Linked DNA regions of Homo sapiens: region 1 is linked to region 2. Evidence: promoter capture Hi-C in human tissues and cell types (Jung and others, 2019). All regions are on one chromosome and are shown on one strand. Each heading gives the region's core, a stretch centred on a gene start or on the middle of the fragment in contact. The rest is flanking DNA. Distances are from core to core; before and after follow the strand shown. Region 1 overlaps CFAP70 (cilia and flagella associated protein 70). Region 2 holds the start of ANXA7 (annexin A7).

Region 1 (3,280 bases), core at 514-3,013, 59 kb after region 2:
CAGTAAATGTTTGAATTGAGTTAGAAAATAAGGCCTTTTCAACAGGCACAGTGGCTCATGCCTTTTAATCCCAGCACTTTGGGAGGCTGAGGTGAGTGGATTGCTTGAGCCTAGCCGTCGAGACCAGCCTAGACAGCATGGTGAAACCCTGTCTCTACAAAAAATACAAAAATTAGCTGGGCGTGGTGGCGCATGCCTGTAGTCCCAGCTACTCAGGAGGCTGAGGTGGGACAATCACTTGAGCCTGGGAGGTTGAAGCTGCAGTGAGCTGTGATCACACCACTGCACTCCAGCCTGGGTGACAGAATGAGAGCCTGAAAAAAAAAAAAAGGAAGGAAGGAGAGATAAAAGACCTTTTCCAAAAAACAAATATCCAATTTATTATCGAAATTGTTTGTGCCCTTAGTATTGTAAAATTGACAGTATATCTGACTAAATAAGAAATACATTAAGACCTTTTCCAGTGGACTACCATTTTGTGTGGCTGCTTCTTTCCTGCTCTCAAAATATATTTTTGTAAAACTGAGAAGTTAAATAATGTTTGAAGGGAGCTTTGCAGATTAAAAAAAACGGTTACCAGAGAACACTGTGAACAGTGTATGGCAGCAGTCCCCAACCTTTTTGGCACCAGGGACCAGTTTCGTGGAAGACAATTTTTCCACAGACTGGGGGCAGCGGGGATGATTCAACCACATTACATTTACTGTGCACTTTATTTCTATTAGTATTACACGGTAATATATAATGAAATTTTTTTGTTTTGAGACGGAGTCACTCTTTTGCCCAGGCTGGAGTTCAGTGGTGTGATCTCAGCTCACTGCAACCTCTGCCTGCCGTGTTCAAGCGATTCTCCTGCCTCAGCCTCCCAAGTAGCTGGGACTTACAGGCATGTGCCATCACACCTGGCTAATTTTTGAATTTTTTAGTAGAGATGGGGTTTCACCGTATTGGACAGGCTGATCTCGAACTCCTGACTTGGTGATCCGCCCGCCTCGCCTTCCAAAGTGTTGGGATTACAGGCGTGAGCCACCGTGCCTAGCCTATATAATGAAATATTATACAACTCACCATAATGTAGAATCAGTGGGAGCCCTGAGCTTGTTTTCCTGCAGCTAGACAGTCCTATCTGGGGGTGATGGGAGACAGTGACAAATCAGGCATTCGATTCTTATAAGGAGTGCACAACCTAGATCCTTTGCATGCATCAGTTACAATAGGGTTCGCACTCCTGTGAGAATATAATGCTGCCACTGATCTGACAGGAGAGAGAGCTTAGGTGGTAATGCAGGTGATGCAGAGTGGCTGTAAATAGAGATGAAGCTTTGCTTGCTCGCCTGCTGCTTACCTCCTGCTGTACAGCCCAGTTCCTGACAGGCCACGGGCTGGTACTGGTTCATGGTTCGGGGTGGGGACCCCTGATGTAGGGTATGGGAGGTCAAGGTGTTCCTACTTTGTCTTGTGATACTTTGTGCTTAATGGGTTAGTTACCTGTATAAACATCTTTAGCGCTACCAGTGAAATCATCCTTGTGACCAGCTCCCTAAAGCACTGCCTGTCCAACAGCAAAGGTTGGATATGGGGAATAAAACAGTGCTGGACTATGGCATTTCCTTAGGTTTTCCCTGGTATTGGTTATGATGGAATATGGGTACTTGTGCAGCTGTGGTACATGAGGGGACAGGTTGATTCATTCTGTTTACAGAGACCAAAGAAAACAGAGGGACTTTTCCCAGTTGGTGATATGGAGCAAGTGCCATCAGCAGGCAGACTCGTGCAGATCACCGTGACAGAGGGATATGATTTGGTAAAGTTACTTTTGGAAATTTACAAAAATCCTTAGTTTGGGAGTACCTGCAGGAGGAATGGAATTTTGCTTCATTCTCTACCTCCAAACCTCCTGGCTTTATGTAGCAGTGGCATTCCGCCTCAGTGTTCCTTATTGTTAGTCTTAATCTCCAAGTCACATTACTGTGTGTCTCAAATACCCGGCAATTTGAATACTAAATTTAACAGGATGAAAGAAACAGTGGTTTTAGTTTCCCTAGACAGCAGTTCACGTATAATTTTTTTCCCTTTCTCCTGAGAAGGATCTGAATTCTTCCAGAGTTTCCCTTGTGATTAATTCTATTTGATTAATTAAAAAAACAACAACAATGTGATGTACTAAAAATTAGGAATATGATGAAATGGGAAAATATTCAGTATATTAAGTTTAAAAAGATCATTCCAAAGAGGATGTAATTAATGAGCTCCACTTTGTTTTAAAATGCATATATAAAAATGTATCTATGTGTGCATGTATGGGTACACACACGTACATCCATATATTCACAGCAGAACACTAGAAAATATATTCTAAAATATTAATAATGCTTGCATGTTACAGTAAGATTGTAGGTAATTAATTTTCTTACTTTTAAAAATGTTCCTCAGTAGCTTGCAGTGAGCTGAGATCGCGCCACTGCACTCCAGCCTGGGTGACAGAGCGAGACTCCGTCTCAAAACAAACAAACAAACAGAAAAAAAAATGTTCCACAGTATACTTTTATTATTAGGTGAAACACAATAAATGTTATTTTCAAGACTCCAACATAACAGCACTTCAATGGAATGTTGCATTTAAGTAAAACTAGATTTGTTTAATGATTTTTCTACCTATTCCTTTTGTATTTGTGATGTTGCTCGTTAGGAAAAAATGAAAAATGCTATTTAGCCCAAATCAAAATGGGTTACCAGATGTGTGGGAAAATTCTCTATTTGAATATAATTGTAAAGTGGTGTGTTTCTGCCAACAGAAAGGTTTTAAAGGAGATACTCCAGTTACCTTTATTCGAGCAGAATTCAATCAAGTGGTTCTGGGAGACTCTGCAAAAATTACTGTTTCTCCAGAAGGAAGTGCAAAATACAACTTCACTAGCAGTTTTGAGTTTAATCCTGAAGGAGGAATCACTTCAGATGACCTCGCTCACAAACCTGTGTTCTGTAAGTCCTTGTGGTTCTAAAAATCAATGTCCCGATTGCCTTCTTCCCTATCATGTTGGATGGGAAAAGCACAACCAAAACATTCTTTTAAACATGTAACTAAAATCATGAGAAAGAAAGGACAGTTCCTTTGTTCCCAGAAGCAAGGCAGGAACTGAAACGTGAAAATCTTGAACAGCTGCCATTGGTGTGTATGTGTTAGTGGAAGTGTGCAGGGAGAAGGCAGTACTCCAAAACCTAGGGGCTTGGGTTTTAATGCTCTCACAAGGACAGAAAACCTTTGGCTGTTGTTGATGGG
Region 2 (3,217 bases), core at 432-2,931:
CGAAACCCCATCTGTACTAAAAATACAAAAAAATTAGCTGGGCGTGGTGACATGCCTCCCAGCTACACGGGAGGCTGAGGCATGAGAATCGCTTGAACCCCGGAGGCAGAGGTTGCAGTGAGCCTAGATCGCACCACAGCACTCCAGCCTGGGTGACAGAGCAAGACTCTGTCTCCAAAAAAATTAAAAAATTAAAATGGTCCAGTTGAGTACAAAAAAGAAGATCAGGAAGAGTTTATTGGAGCAAGACGGAGATGAGCAACCTTGAAAACAAGTCTAATTAAGATGAGTAATTGTTAAAAGATGAGCAGTGCTTTCTAAGCAGAGGTAGCAGGAGGAAAGGGTCTCCGATCCTGTAACGCCTTTTATGCCAGGAAGAAAGGATGAATTGAAAGGATGAAATGGCAAATGTCGTAGTAGACTATTGGACTATTCCTGCAGCTCAGGAAAGTGGGCTGGAAATAAGAGGTTTGGCAAATACCCTGTTATGGTGGTATTTAAGGCAGAGGGAGGGTTTGGAACGAGCTCACAAAGGGAACTCTAGAATGAACAGAGTAGGCTTCTCAGGGAAGGCTTAAATCCTGGAGGTCTCTGGGGTAGGTAGGACAGAAAGTCCTGTTATTTTCCAGGTAGACAGACTGTTGGGCGCCGGGGAATTAATGCTGGTCACCTAGAGAGTTGTGCATTTTGTCTACCATTGTTAAATGAGGCAATGACCTGCCTCAAATACTTTTCACTCCACACACCTATTTGGAAGCCACGTATATTTTGCTTGCTCTTCCCATTTAAAATCGTAATCCACTCTATTCCACCCCCATGAGGAAGCTTTTGGGTAGAAAAGTGTGTAGAGGAATAAGTAAGTTGATGTGCATCAGATGTGCAAACTTTAGTGTGCATCAGAACCACCTGGAAGGCTTGTTAAAACAGGTTGCTGGGCACCACCCGGGGAGTTTGATTCAGTAGGTCTAAGGTGGAGTTCAATAATCTGCGTTACTAACACGTTTCCAGGTGATGCTGCTGTTCGGGGGACCACACCCAGAAGCTACCTTTTACCACTCTAAAAGGTAGCTGATTGGTTTTCTCTGTAATATAAATTCCTTAACGAGTTTAAAATATTGATCTGAGCCCTCGTAATTGCCTCAAATGTTTAATGCTAATGTGTGTTCAATGCTGTAGCCACGAGGGGAGCCTAAAATCACCTAACAACTCCTTTCGGGAGTGATTTTGATTAGTTCATCTACAGTTCCAACTAAGATTTCCCACAAATATTACTTTCACAGGAGGCTAACAAAAAACGCCGTCTTTGTCCCCAGAAAATACCTGGAGGACGGTATTTCAGAGGCGGGGAGGCTGCACCAGCCTCCCAGTCTCAGCCCTTCTCTACCGCCCGCCACTGAAGGGGCCCCGGATACCCCCAGGACTGCTGCAACTTCCTAGGTGACTTGAGGCAGCCTTAAAAGGGATTGGTGCAGGGTCCTTGCGACAGATAAATGTGATTAAAAATCCGCTGGGCCACCCGAAGGGAGAGTCTTTTTCCCTCAGGTGGCGCCTAGGGGCGGGACTGAGGGACAGCCCGCTCCCCGCAGCGCCCTCTCCGGCTCCGGGGGTGTTCCCGGCTGCAGCCGCGATCCTAACGGGCTCGCGAGACGCCCCGCCCACCCTGGGCCCGCCCCCGGCTCCATCTTGCGGGAGACCGGGTTGGGCTGTGACGCTGCTGCTGGGGTCAGGTGAGGAGCGGCGCCCCCCTCCCTTTCCCACCTCGTCTGCCTCGGTGGTCTTGCCCTCGGCCAGCTCTGGGCGCTGCTGTCCCGGTGCTAGTGGGGCGCGGCTGGAGGGCAGTGTGGGCCTCCCGGATGGCGGCGACTCGGTTTGCGCGTCTCGTAGCCGGGCTGCCGGCCGGGGTGTGTTGGGGTGGCGTGGGTGAGGCGGCCGGCCTGGCTTACGGGAAGCCCTTCCGTCCGTTTGGAAATCCCAGGGACCAGTGGCGCCCCGCCCTCGGGCAGGTGGAGGGGCTGAGGCCGGAGCGTGGCCCAGCTGCCTCGCGGGAGGCTGAGTAGGGAAACGCACGGGCAGTGCTGAAAGCCGTCTGGCTGGTAGTGGCTGTACTTTCCGGTGACACAGCGAATTTAGGGAAACTTGGGGAAATTTTTACTGTGTTTAGTGAACCGTAGGACAGAATGCGCCAGGCCAAGGTCGTACACTGGTTCTCGTTTACAGTTCTTGGAAGCTATTCTAGAATAGCATTCCAGATTTGATTGCTGTTCCCCGACCAGCAGCAAATCTGTGTTGAAATTAGCTCATCCTGTGCAAACACTGCGCAAGGAAACCAAGGTGCAGAGGTAGATGGCTGATGTCCACCGTAAAGTGACAGACATGACGCTGTTGTCTTCCGACTGCCGTAAACGCCCTGATTTTTGCCAGCTGATGGCCAGCTAATCTGCTAAATGTGTCCGAATTAGATGATGAGTGTAATGAGTTACCTTCCAGGCAAGGAAAGAGTTTCAAGCACTGAATAGGTAAAAGAGATAATTTTGGCCACTGCAAACTTTCAGTCCTTTTCAGTGAGGACTGTCTTTCAGTCCTCACTGGTGGTTGGCTACCTACCTGTCCGTGCAGAGGACTAGCCATGCCTCCATGTTCTTTCTCCACATCACTGACGGATTTAAATGATCCTACCATACCTAGAAGCCGGTTTTGCAAAATTGTATTCGCTGTTGCGCGTATCTTCAGTCACCCTTCCTGTTTCGTGTATTTTTTCCCCCATAAATTTGCAACAGCTGCCTCTTGGGTTCCTGGGCTTCATGCCATCAATGAGAAACGGTGAGACCCAGCCCTTTTACTAACTGACTCACTGGGTGGAGGTGGTTTGGAAAACCAAAAATGATTTTCTAGTCTTTTAAAAGTGATTGCTAACAGAGAATGTTTAAAAAAAAAAAAAAAAAAGCCCGAGCGCGGTGGCTCACTCCTGTAATCCTAGCACTTTGGGAGGCCGAGGCGAGAGATTCACGAGGTCAGGAGGAGTTTGAGACCAGCTTGACCAACACGGTGAAACCCCGTCTCTACTTAAAAATACAAAAATTAGCTGGGCGTGGTGGCGCGCGCCTGTAATCCCAGCTACTCTGGAGGCTGAGGCAGGAGAGTCGCTTGAACCCGGGAGGCAGAGGTTGCAGTGAGCCAAGATCGCCACTGCACTCCAGCCTGGGCGGCAGAGAGAAAC

The links. The method cuts DNA at HindIII sites, captures the fragments that hold promoters and counts their contacts. A contact is called where the count stands out against the background at its distance.
Region 1: a fragment that was not itself captured here is called in contact with the fragment with the promoter of ANXA7 in region 2 in 1 of the 25 tissues and cell types used here (hippocampus).

The regions. Positions count from the first base shown.
Region 1 is chr10:73,353,258-73,356,537 of GRCh38, reverse strand. It overlaps CFAP70 (cilia and flagella associated protein 70), which reads left to right. Exons shown (of 28, transcript NM_001367801.1): 2 at 1,703-1,804; 3 at 2,796-2,982. The coding sequence starts at 1,742. Among named protein-coding and RNA genes, the nearest start is that of CFAP70, 4.0 kb to the left of the region's middle. The HindIII fragment of the contact is 5,225 bases long and covers 1-3,280 here.
Region 2 is chr10:73,412,522-73,415,738 of GRCh38, reverse strand. ANXA7 (annexin A7) reads left to right here and starts at 1,681. Exons shown (of 13, transcript NM_001156.5): 1 at 1,681-1,727. RefSeq lists a silencer at 1,498-2,057 and enhancers at 2,458-2,537, 2,548-2,667. The HindIII fragment of the contact is 7,160 bases long and covers 1-3,217 here.